Regions from separate parts of the Homo sapiens genome. Here region 1 is linked to region 2. The links are contacts of gene promoters, found by promoter capture Hi-C in human tissues and cell types (Jung and others, 2019). All regions are on one chromosome and are shown on one strand. Each heading gives the region's core, a stretch centred on a gene start or on the middle of the fragment in contact. The rest is flanking DNA. Distances are from core to core; before and after follow the strand shown.

The links. Contacts are between HindIII fragments. The study calls those that stand out against the background at their distance.
Region 1: a contact is called between a fragment that was not itself captured here and the fragment with the promoter of EFCAB14 in region 2, in 1 of the 25 tissues and cell types used here (mesendoderm cells).

What each region holds. Positions count from the first base shown.
Region 1 is chr1:47,172,042-47,178,075 of GRCh38, reverse strand. It overlaps CYP4A22-AS1 (CYP4A22 antisense RNA 1), which reads left to right. Exons shown (of 6, transcript NR_199717.1): 3 at 1,007-1,148; 4 at 3,452-3,522; 5 at 5,040-5,227. Among named protein-coding and RNA genes, the nearest start is that of LINC00853, 4.2 kb to the left of the region's middle. RefSeq lists a silencer at 3,905-4,199. The HindIII fragment of the contact is 5,152 bases long and covers 1-5,038 here.
Region 2 is chr1:46,716,207-46,723,060 of GRCh38, reverse strand. It overlaps EFCAB14 (EF-hand calcium binding domain 14), which reads left to right and starts at 3,947. Exons shown (of 11, transcript NM_014774.3): 1 at 3,947-5,158; 2 at 6,618-6,766. The coding sequence starts at 4,974. RefSeq lists silencers at 3,723-3,772, 4,093-4,142. The HindIII fragment of the contact is 12,522 bases long and covers 1-6,694 here.

The sequences.
Region 1 (6,034 bases), core at 1,213-3,712, 460 kb before region 2:
GGTGGGGGCAAAGTGAGGAAAGGGGCAGGGAGGAGAGGGGAGAGAGAAAAAGGGGAATGAGACAGGCTGAGCTAGTGAGCTGGAATTGGAGGTTGGGAACAGGCTTTCCTTGATGGTGGTGGTGCTGTTTTCTTTTTAATTTTAATTTAATTTTATTTTAAGTTCCAGGCTACATGTGCAGGATGTACAGGTTTGTTACATAGGTAAAAACATGGTGGTTTGCTGCAACTGTCAACCCATCACCTAGATATTAAGCCCAGCATGCATTAGCTATTTATCCTGATGCTCTCCCCACCCCTGCCCCAACAGGCCCCACTGTATGTTGTTCCCCTCTTTTTTGTTCACTTAAAAGATCCCACTTTTAAGTGAGAGTATGCAGTGTTTGGTTTTCTGTTCCTGTGTTACTTTGCTGAGGATAATGGCCTCCAGCTCCATCCATGTCCCTGCAAAGTACATGATCTCATTCCTTTTTATGTCTGCATAGTATTCCATGGTATATATGTACCATATTTTCCTTATCTAGTCTATCATTTATGGGCATTTGGGTTGATTCCATGTCTTTGCTACTGTGAATAGTGCTGCAATGAACATATGCTTGCATGTATCATTATTTTTTTATTTTTTTTGAGATGGAGTCTTACTCCCTCACCCAGGCTGGAGTGCAATGGTGCAATCTCTGCTCACTGCAACCTCCTCCTCCCGGGTTCAAGCAATTCTCGTGCCTCAGCCTCCCGAGTAGCTGGGACTACAGGTGCCTGCCACCACACCCGGCTAATTTTTTTGTTTTTTTGTATTTTTAGTAGAGACGGGGTTTTACCATGTTGTTCAGGCTGGTCTCGAACTCCTATCCTCAGATGATCCACCCTCCTGAGCTTCCCAAAGTGCTGGGATTACAGGCATGAGCAACCACACCCAGCCACATGTATCTTTATAATATAATGATTTATTCCTTTGGGTACACACCCAGCAATGGGATTGCTAGGTCAAATGCTATTTCTGGTTCTAGGTCTTTGAGGAATCACCACACTGTCTTCCACAATGGTTGTACTAATTTACATTTGCTGGTGCTGTTTTCTACATTGAATCTGAGGGCTACTGTATGATGTGTAAGACACTTTCTGATTGGAGCCTCACAATGATCCTACCAGGTGATTACAACTGAGCCCAAGTTTTAGAGGAAAAAAATGCAGACTCAGAGAGAGAAAAGTGATTTGCCCAAGGTCACATAGCCAGCTAGTGGCATTGAACCCTGGCCTTTTGACTTTAAATCTATTGCAAATTCTACCCCAGCATAGGGTTCTCTTTGGGGTGTGTGTGTGTGTGTGTGTGTGTGTGTGTGTGTGTGTGTGTGTGAAATGGGGAGATAAAGAAGCCAACAGTGTTTGCCTTTGCAGAGCATGCAGTCCATTTGGAAACATGCATGTGGGAAAGTGGGGAGGGACCCTGTCAAGCATCTAAGAGGAGTGGTGGCATTTGCTGTGTCCACCTCCATCCTTCCCACTCACTACTCAGCACCTATAGCCTTGTCGCTCTCCCCAACACTCTGCTGAGACTGTTGTCACCAAAAACACTATTGTCCGGCTCCCTGTTGAAAGGTAAGATGGTCTATCTGATTCTTCCGCTCTCAGTATAATAGGATGATCACCATTTTATCTGGGAAGCTGTTCCTGACCACCTGCCCTCAGCTCATCAAGCTTCTGTGAGCCTGCAGGCTCACCCTGGTCATGCCGCCCATCTCTCTGAACAAGATTGTGAACTCTGAACTTTGTGAGGCAAAGACCACATACACCTCTTTATTGCAATGTGCAAGTGTCCTGGAATATAGGAGGTCTCCGAGAGCTATGTGTTGACATGGAGACCTTATCCCTTGCACTCAGTTACACTGCTTCCAGTAAAGTATCAACTTCTAGATCAGCGCCTTCAGCTCCACTCCCTCCTGCACAGCTCCACAGGTACCTCAGGTCCAAAATGGAATTCTTGATCTTTCACCAACCTGAGTCCTCTGTTCCTGTAAGTGGCATCCATTCACCCAGACCAGAGATAGGGGAGTCACCCAGAATCCCCCTCTCCCTCAGTCCCTGAGTTTCACTTTCCAACATATCTCCCTCCAGGTTCTTTCCAACACATCTCCCTCCAGGTTCAAGCCTCGATCTTGCCTGATGTTTGCAGCTGCCTGCTCCCTTGTTTTTATTTTTACCCCCAAGTTTTCCTCTACACTGCAGCTAGGGAGACCTTTCCTGCTGGAATACAGCCATTCACATCTGCGAGAGGAATCTAAACTCAAGGCAGGTGTAGCCTAGTGGCTATGTGCATGAGCTTGAAGCCAAATTTCCCTGAGCAAATCCCATCCTGCCAATTTTATATTAGTGGGATGTACCCCAACGAGGGTATATCAGGGACTGAATATGCAAATTAGGGATAAAATGAGGCCCATCTTATGAGGTTGTGGTGAAGAGTAAATGGATGTAAAGAAAGCATGCAGTATGCTCAGTGAATGACAGCCATCGTGATTTTCCTTTCCTTGCCTGCAATATCTCGAGCAGCCACTAGATGACTCCACCTCCTTCTCCCTTTCCAGTGCTGCCAACACTACTGCTGGAACTTCTGCCTCCCCTCCCCTCCCTCACCACACATCTCCATGCCCGTGTTGTTCATGTTTTTCCTTCTGCTAGCCTCACCGTCTTCGGGGCGTCTCCCTGACATCTTTTACTACATCTCACCCTCAGCTCTTGGAGGACGGGATGTCCCCACGAAAACTGGCATAGTGCCTGCATTGAACAAGTACTCAGTGTTTGCTGAATGAATGAATGTGGGTTAGTCAATACTAGCTCAGCTGCTTACATCACTTAGCCTCCCCGGGTCTCAGGATCTCCTTTTATCTGTGGTGACCATCCAATGTAAAGCCCTAGCATAAGACCTAGCATGCTTTAGACCCATGGTTGCCGTGCACAGCCAGCTGCCTGTCAATCATTGCCCATTCCCATTGCCCACTAGCCATTGTCCACTCTATGTTCACCCCTGTTACCTCACCCAGCTGAGGGTCTTAAACATAGTTTTACCTCTTCTCAAAGGTCATTCTTTACTTGGTAGGGTAGGGTCTAGAAAGAGTCTGCAATTTGGTTAGAGTCTAGATTTAGTTTGCAACCCAGCTGGGCTGGGTGAGCCCAGGCTTGGCTGATGGTTCAGCTGAGCCCAGATGGCTCCCATCTGCCTGGAAAGCATAGGCTCAGCCTCCCCCTTCCCTGAACCCCTACCAAGCATCCTGGCTGGCTGTGCTCCTGGTCCTCTTTTACTCTAGTCCAGTTCCTGTCCTGGCTTGGGCTGGGGGTAAGGGCACTTGTTTCTGGCCACTCCTCATGGATCTCTAGTCTCTGCCTCTGTCTTTGCCTGCTTGACCCTGGTCCTTGTGCCACTTACATCAATGTCCTGAAGCAATGACTATTTTTTATAGGACCGACTCTCAGGAGATGAAGATCCAATCACTCTATCAAAGAATATGAGCATTTCCGAGGCTCTTGTAAGGTACATGCTTTCTATTGTTTTCCTTAAGGGTTGAATCCATCTACACTTAATCAATTCCACCACAGTGTAAACAGTGTGTGTGGAGGGGCGTGGGGGTGATGGTGGACTAACAGAGGCTGAACACTTTCCAAAAACTTGTTCCCAAAGTTTATTGCTTTCTCCATATGTAATACCAGTTCCTGTTCTCTGTATTGGTTGCAATATCTTTTTTTTTTTTTTTTTTTTGAGATGAAGTCTTTCTCTGTCACCCAGGCTGGAGTGCAGTGGTGCGATCTCTGCTCACCGCAACCTCCGCCTCCCGGGTTCAAGCAATTCTCCTGCCTCAGCTTCCCGAGTAGCTGGGATTACAGGCGCACGGCACTATGCCCGGCTAATTTTTGTATTTTTAGTAGAGATGGGGTTTCACTGTGTTGGCCAGGCTGGTCTGGAACTCCTGACCTTGTGATCCGCCCCCCCTTGGCCTCCCAAAATGCTGGGATTACAGATGTGAACCACCGCGCCCGGCCTGCTTGCAATATCTTGAACAGCCACAAGATGGCAGAACTTATATAGTTACTGGTTCAGCATTGATCGTCCCATGAATGTGAAGTTTACTTTTTGTCCTTTACCTGTTCAGTTGGGCACTGCCCTGGTGTTATGGACTGAATGTGAAAACTGATGAGAAGATCAATACTGGACCAGGAACTCCCCCATTACCAGTGCATAGAGGGGAGTCTGCCCAGGCTGGGGGTCTGAGTGGAGTGGCCATTGATGGATCCTTGGGGAGATGTGAGGGCAGATAGAACCCTGGCTAGAAGTCAGGTGTTCGGGATGCTAGAACTGGCCTTGCCCTGCCTCAAGTTCAGCTACCATTCATTTCTTGAGGACTATCTCTATGCCGTATTTTGTCCAACCACCACAGTGAAAGCACCCATCACCAGGGTTTGTGTCTTAGGCAGTTGGTTGTTTTATAGAGGTCTCAGGCAATGCAAAGCCCAAGACAAAACTGTGTGGTCATGGCGACCTGGCAATCTTTATTAAAATGGAAGCTCTGATGGCTGAATTTGTAAACCAGGTCGTTGTGATGCAGGAAAGTATTCTGGCAAGGGTGGATGAGTTTGGTAATGTTAGACACCACTTCTGGGCAGGAGTCTAAGGGTTCCGGAAGAGAAGAGGTGGAGCAGCATACTAACGGATGAAATGACTGGTGGCGAATGAGTTTACTTCTTGTCCTTTACTCATAACCTGTTCACTTGGGCACTGCCCTGGTGTTATAGACTGAATGTATGTGTCCCCCTCAAATTCATGTGTTTAAATCTTAGCCCCCAGTGTGATGTTATTAGAAGGTGGGGCCTTTTGGAAAAAATTAGGTCATGAGGATGGAGCCCTCATGAATGAGATTAGTGCCCTTATAAAAGGGACCCCAGCAAGCTCTCTTGCTCTCTTTCTGCCGTGTGAGGACACAGCGAGAGGACAGCAGTCTGCAGCCCCGAAGAGAGCCCTCACCAGCACCTGACCACGCTGCACCCTAATTTCAGACATCCAGCCTCCAGAACTGTGAGTACTATGCTGAAGAGAGCCCTCATCAGCACCTGACCAACCTGACCATGCTGCACCCTCATCTTAGACGTTCAGCCTCCAGAACTGTGAATACTATGCTGAAGAGAGCCCTCACCAGCACCTGACCATGCTGCACCCTCATCTCAGATGTCCAGCCTCCAGAACTGTGAGTACTACATTTCTGTTGCTTATAAGTGATCCATTCTGTGGTATTTTGTGAGAGCAGCCTGAATGACTACCTTGTGACTGAAGGTATACTTCATAATAGTGTTCGGGGTCACTGGGAAATGTGTTCAGAAGATTTCAGATGTGCATCAGCAATGGTCTTCTTCCATTTGTCCTGGAAAGAGATGAAAATCACATCACAAAAATGCTCATCAGTGTCTACTGGCCCTTTTCCTTACATATGCCTGAAACTCCAACCTCTATGGGTGCCTTTTAGTGCTTGTTTGGGCTGTGACATAGAGAGAAATTGAACAAAATAAATGTACAGTATAATTACAACTACTGTAAAGCAAAGCAATTTGCAAACATCAAAAGGAAATCCTGTGTCCAAACTGCCTACGTCCTATGGACCACACTGTGGGGCTCTGACAGTATTCTGTGTGACTGCCAGAAGATAACTTGACCCTCTTTAGCTAAAGGTAACACCAACCAGAGTCTCTATGATCTCTCACACACAATGCTCAGCATTTAATAAGAAATCAGTAGGCATGATGACCCATTCACCAAAAGCCAAAGAAAAACCAAAGCAGACAACAGAAATAATCCCATAGGAGAAACAGATATTGAGTATTCAGACAGAAATATTAAAATAGCCATGATTAATATGTTTTAGAAAATAGAGAGAAAGATGGAGCATCTCATCAAAGAGTTCCATCTATAAAAAGAGTGAAATGGGAATTCTGTAATTTTTATTTTATTTTTAATTTATTTATATATATATACATATATTTTTTATTATAGTTTAAGT
Region 2 (6,854 bases), core at 2,698-5,197:
AGAGAGAGTTTGCATGCCAAGTCATGAAACAGGCCTCTTGCCTGTCTCATGTGAGGGTCTACACTCACCTTGTATCACCAGGCCTAAGGGAATACAACATTAAATAGTGAATAATAAACAGGAAGACAGGTTGAGAGAGACAGCAGAGAGAGAAAAGGAACCCTGCATTTGCATTTGCACTGGTCCTCATAAATTATGTAGCCAGTCCTGGGTACTATGATTGCCTCTATTTCACTGAGGTGGCAATCATAGTGGACACTGAGGCTCAGAGAGGCTCAGTACTTTGTCCAGGATCACACAGCTGCCAAGTGGCAATGTTCAGACACAGACTTAGATCCCAGGTAAGAGAGGACTCCAAGATCTTAAAGAGCTTTCAGCCCAGGAATTAGGAGAGCTGGATCCAATTTTTGACTATGACCTTGGCAAGTTTGCCCCTACTCTGTGCCTCAGCTTGCCCAAGTGAAAGCACTCTATGGAGTCTTCCAAAGTAGCACAGGGTCTCAAGATTTGGCTTTGCCAGTTATATGGGCTGTGATTTTGAGCACAGGGAAATCATCTTTGCCTACCTTCCCCATAGAGTTGCCAGAAGCATTCAGCAGACATGTACCCACTCTGCATGACACTTCACAGCATGTAAAGCACGCCCATGCTACTCCCTGCCCCAAACAACATGAAGCAGAAGACTGGGCTAGGAATATTATCATCCCCATATCACAGACAGAAACTTTGAAGCGCCAGAACTCTAAAGTGACTTCCCCAAACTCACTGCATTTCAGGCAAGTTTTGAGTAGGTTAACAGACTCCCCAGGATCATAATATGAACAACCCCAAAGGAGAAGATGGATCACAACCTTGGGAGTCCTGGTGTGGGAGGGCAGCAGGAGGCCCCACTCTGAGTGGGGTGGCTTAATCCCTGGCCTTGAGGGTCCCGGGTCTGAGGAAGGAGGCCAGAGAGGTATCCAAGAGCTCCTGAAGGAAAAGAAACAGCTGGCCAGTAACTTTCAAAGGGTGACAGCATCCTGTGTGATGTCTACCCAACAAGGAGGGGTGTTATCTACAGATCATAAGCAAACAGGCAGACAGAAGGACTGAGAGGCAGATCCAGCAGAAGCATTCCCCTGTTTGTCAATTCTACTCCTGCAGCCTCCCCACCCATGACCAGCCCACTGGCCAGTCATGGGAGAGATCTCCACCCACAGAGAGCACAGGCTCTGGCTGACCAGAAGTCCCTGCAGCGGGGGTGGTATGTCCTCAGCCCTGCCCCACTCCCCTGGGTTCCTCAGTCCCTGGTTCCCTGGGAACCTGTATCATCTACAACAAAGGAGGGCCACCCCACCCTCGGGCCAGCCACCTCTCCTGCCTGGGGCTTCTGGTGACCACAGGATGTGTTTCAGAAATGGTTCTTGAAGTCAGGAGCCTCACCTGTCTATCCCCAGTCCTTCAGGGAAGCATTAGTGAAGAACTCTCCAGTAAAACTTTCTGTGGTGGTGGAATTGTACTATTACTTGCTGCCTGGTAGCCACTTGCCACATATGGCTACTGGACACTGTGGCCAATGATACTGAAGAACCAATTTAAAATTTGTATTTTGTTTTAATTATGTTAAATGTAGATTTAAATTGTTATATGTGGCCAGTTTGGCTACTGTATTGGGCAATGAAGCTCTAGAAACAAAAGGGGACAATACACCATGACTTGGGGCTTCAAAAACACTTTCACATTCATCTCATTGTCCTGTGAAATAGGTGTTTATCCCCATTTTACAGAGGAGAAAACTGAAGCTCAGAGAAACTAAACGGCTTCCATGCTGATGGAGCCAGGAAGAAGTAGAGACATGATTGAGTCCCAGGTTTCTTGATTTTGATTCCAAAAGTCCACTCATACCTCTTTGCAACACTGCCCACTTATGTAGTCATCACATATTTATTGGGTCATCGTTATTTAGGAGTACACTTCTGGGCTAGACACTTAAAAACAAATCAGATACAGGCCCAGGCTTTGCGAGAATCCTTGGACAAAAGCAGCGTAATTGCCACAGTAAGAATATGGGCATAAAAATTACTTTAAGTGACTTTCTTCCAAGTAGCTCAAAGCACTTTGCTTTAAATTCCATTTATATCTGATGACTTCCCAATTGATATTTCAGGCCCCAACCTGTGCCCAGAGAACTCTCAATGGGTATACCAAACAGCCTCCATTTGAATATTGAATTGGCTTGTCAAACTTGTCCCAAACTTGCTCTACCCCATCTCAATAAATAACAATTCCTTGCTTCCAGTGTTTCCACCGCCAAACCCTCTCTTCTCTTCACACCTTTCATCTAATCTATCAGCAAAAATTGTCAGCTCTGTCTTCAAGAAACATCCAGAATGCTCTCCATCTCTGCTACTGCCTCTCTAATCTATCAGCATCATCTCTAGCTGGACTGTAACAAACTGCTCTCCTGTGTTCCTCACTCTCCCCCCACTTTTTTCTACAAAGTAGCCAGAGTAATTTTTTCCTTTATTTTATTTTATTTTATTTATTTATTTATTTATTTATTTATTTATTTATTTATTTATTTATTTATTTTTGAGACGGAGTCTCGCTCTGTTGCCAGACTGAAGTGCAGTGGTGCAATCTCGGCTTGTTGCAACCTCCGCCTCCCGGTTTCAAGCCATTCTCTTGCCTCAGCCTCCCAAGTAGCTGGGATTACAAGCGCGCACCACCACGCCCAGGTAATTTTTGTATTTTTAATAGAGACAAGGTTTCACCATATTGGCCAGGATGGTCTCCATCTCCTGACCTTGTGATCCGCCCACCTCAGCCTCCCAAAATGCTGGGATTACAGGCGTGAGCCATCGCGCTGGCCCAGAGTGAATTTTTTTTTTTTTTTTTTTTTTTACGGAAAAGCCAGAGTATGCTACCTCTCAGCTTAAAGCCCCCAGTGCTTTCCCAAAGTCCTTTCAGTGATCCATAAGGCCCTAAAGCCCTGGCCTCTGATGCTTCTCTGACCTCATTTCCTATCACTCTGCTCCTTGCTCTTCTGGTCCAGCCACAACAGGTCTTCCTGGTCACTCCTTCCTGCAGCCACTGCACAGCTCATTCCCTCACCTCTCCTCCGATAAGCTGACTAAATGTTCCCTTTTCACAGAGGCACTCCCCATCACCTGACCGTGTTTCAATTTTCATCATAACACTTATCACCTCCTGACATTTAATATGTTTGCCTATTGTTGCTCTCCTCCCTCTAGAGTATAAATAAACTGCAGGAATAGATTGGCAGATAAGATACACGATGCTCAGTTAAACTTGCATTTCACATACACAATGAATAATTTTTTAGTGTGAGGATGTCCCAGATGTTGCATGGGATGTCTTAATGCTAAAAAATTGTTTGCTGTTTCTCTGAAATTCAAACTTTACTGGGTGTCCTACATTTTTATTTGCTAAATCTGGCAACACTATACAGGAAGACAAGGACCCTGGTTATTTTGTTCATGGCTGTATCCCCAGCGCTAGAACAGCTCCTGACACGTAGTAAGTAAGCTCTCAATAAATATTTATTGACTGAATGAATGTGTTAATTAATCTGAAACGCGCCTAAACTTTTAACAGCCTGTGTGAGAGTCAGAGAGGCGGAGCCTTCAGACTTGGTTAGTCCAGGGGGCGTGGGCGGCTGATGAACTTTCGAAGTAGGTCGAGCAGCCGGGCGCTTTGCCTGCCCCGCCCGCGCTCCGCAGGATGCAGGACTCCACCCGGCTCAGGTTCGCAGCAGGTCCCGGAAGCCCTCCTGGGGGCGGGGCCACCCTAATCGGCAGGTGGGACCCAGCCCCAGCCGGGGCAGGGCCCCTTTAACGCCCCACCTCTCCGCCACGACTTTCGCCCCGGCGTGACGTCACCCCAGCGGGCGACCAATGGGAGTGCGGCTTACTGGCAGGCGGCGCAGGCGGCCGCTGCCAAAGGGGAAGTGATCTGGGGCTGGAGCGATGGCCCGGGGCTGGAGCTCGCGGCCGCCGCCGCCGCAGCCGCCGCCACCAACGCCAACAACAACGTGTCGGGAGCAGCCGCGGCCGAAGCCGGAGCAGGGGCCGGAGTCGCGGCTGGAGTGGGGCCTGCGCGTGTGAGTGGCCGAGAGTTGCCCGTGCCGGAGACCTCAAACTCCGGGCGGGAGCGCTTTCGGTCGGCCGAGCCGCCGTCGCCCGCGGCACCGTGTCCCCAAGGCCCAGACAGCGGGGCGGGGGTCTATCAGGCGCGGGACTGGCTTCTCTCAGGCCGACCCTTCTAGCCGGGCTCCGGATCTTCCTCGGCCTCGGGCCCCCTTCACGTTCAGGACGGAGGCCGGAGAACGGTGATCATCACACACCCCAGCCGGCTTCCTGGCCAGGGCATTTTCTCTGCGGCCAAGCAGTGTTGGGATTGTAGCTGCTGGGAGCCCCCTCCTGCCGCCACCTCTCCTGCAAGGAAGGGACTGACGCGTTCCCACTTTCTTACTCTGCACCTCCCCACTCTCTTCCCATTCAAGAACGAGTTTCTCTTCCCTCTCCATTGGAAATCTTGCTCCGGAGGTCCGAAACACGTATTTTAAGCGTGCCCTTCCTCACCTCCTGGAGCACCCTTAGAAGTATTGCCTACTTATCCGGGCTGAGAATCCTTCATTTTTGACCTGGCTTTTTTTTCGCCCTTTGGGAGATAAAGGTCCCTCTCCACCCTCTACTAACACTCTGCACCCAAGGCCTTATCCTTTGGGGTCACCAGCTCCTTGGCCATTTCTATGTGATTTCCCCCACCCATCTGAGTTCCAGTTTCCTCTGGGCTCCAATCTCCAGTCCCTGGCGGATCTGGTCAGTCCCACCCCTAGGTGGGAGTGACCAGGGGGCTCTGGCCCAGGATTCCCAACCCTGGAAGGCAGCTCCAAGGCAGGAAGAGAATTGGGCATCGGGTACGAACCTGGCAGCTCAGGAGTCGGGGCTCCACTCACCCCACACAAAAAGATGAAAAAGCGCAAAGAGCTCAATGCATTGATTGGTTTGGCTGGGGACAGCCGGAGAAAGAAGCCCAAGAAAGGCCCAAGCAGTCACCGCCTGCTTCGCACTGAGCCTCCCGACTCAGACTCTGAGTCCAGCTCCGAAGAGGAAGAGGAATTCGGTGTGGTTGGAAATCGCTCTCGCTTTGCCAAGTGAGTAGTGGTGAAAGGTGGAATGGGAAGAAGGCATCTCCTTGCACTACCAAGGGGCCACATTGACAGGAAGGAGAAAGGAAGTCCTTAGGAAGAAAAAAGGGTGTAGGCCTTGGAAGTCAAAGAGGGAAAAACGGTTTTAGGGAGAAGGTAAGTTCAGATCCTGAATGAAGAATAAGTTAGAGATCTGTCTTTAGGTGTAGAAAGAAAAGCTCCAAATCTGAGGTGGAAATGTGGACTTGGAGAATGTGCCAAGAGCCCAGGGAGTCCTAAAGAAGCAAAGAATGGAGACAGAGGAGCAGAGAAGCTTTGGGGACTAGACTTTTTAAAACAGTGTAGAACAAAGGAGAAGCAGAGACTTTAAGACTGCAGATTATTTCGTTTTTGCACTCTTGATGAGTCTGAATATTGGTGGTGGGGAAATATGGTGAGAGATATACTGTAGGAAGTATGAGCCTTGAGAGTAGGTGGGGTCGGGGGGCAAAAGAAGAGGCATCATTTTCCCTAGCCATTCATAGGTGGAGAGACCACTAGGCAAATCAAGTAGTAAGATTTGAGGACATTGGGATTGGGGCTCAGGATGGGAAAGGACTAAAGGGAACTTCAAAAACGTCCTTTGACTCTCTCAGAGCACACTAAAAGAAAAGAGGATTCTGCTGAGGATGTAGAAACAATGGCTAGGCAGAAGGTCGGGGTGCTGACATTGAGTGGTTGGTTGGTTTAAAATGTCTTGTTTTGTTAAAGGAAGAGTTTGATTTCTAATGAGCTTTGTCAGCTAAGGCTGTTAAGGGCAATCCTGGGTTTGGGTTATGAAGATCAGTTGAAGTGTTACCTTCATCAGAAGGTACCTGGAGTAGTAACCCTACTAAGTTAGTTTAGACCTTGAAGGTTGGTTGATGTTTTGTGTGAAATCCAGCCCCTTCTATGTTTCCTTACTTCTGAGCCAATAAGCTAGAATACACCAGGTGTCCACTTAAAACTACAGATCCTGTTTCTTTCATTTCTTTTGCAGTAAAACTTGCTCAAAAGTTTATAAAGTTTCAGTAAACTGGAGCAAGGTTCCCCGGAGTGAGTATGTATTTCAGAGAGAAATCAATAGGCAAATTCCAGTGCAGAGATGGAATTGCAGAGAAACATTGGTCTTTACACTTTTGTGACCTGAGCTTGTATTCAAAGACCTCCCTCCTGATAATGACAGCTGCAGTGCCTTTAGGTTCTTCCTTTTACCTGCAGGAACTCCTTCTGTTTTATGTGACATTTGAAACCTTTGTATCCAGTAGATGAACCCTTAATAGGTCATATTATTTATTCATTTAAGTGCTTTACCCTGCCTCCCCTGGTTAATTCACTGGTTATTCATTTAAAGGAGATAATTGCATGGCAAAACGTGTACTATTGCTAATAAAGCTATACCCATAATCACTTTTGTACTCATGGTTGAATTTGTCCTCTTGAGCAGGGGAGACTATTTACGATGCTGCAAGATCTGTTATCCGCTCTGTGGTTTTGTCATCCTTGCTGCCTGTGTTGTGGCCTGTGTTGGCTTGGTGTGGATGCAGGTTGCTCTCAAGGAGGATCTGGATGCCCTCAAGGAAAAATTTCGAACAAGTAAGTAAGTGGTTACTCTCTTTTTTTTTTTTTTTTTTTTTTTTTTGAGACAGGGTCTTGCTCTGTCGCCTAGGCTGGAGTACAGTGG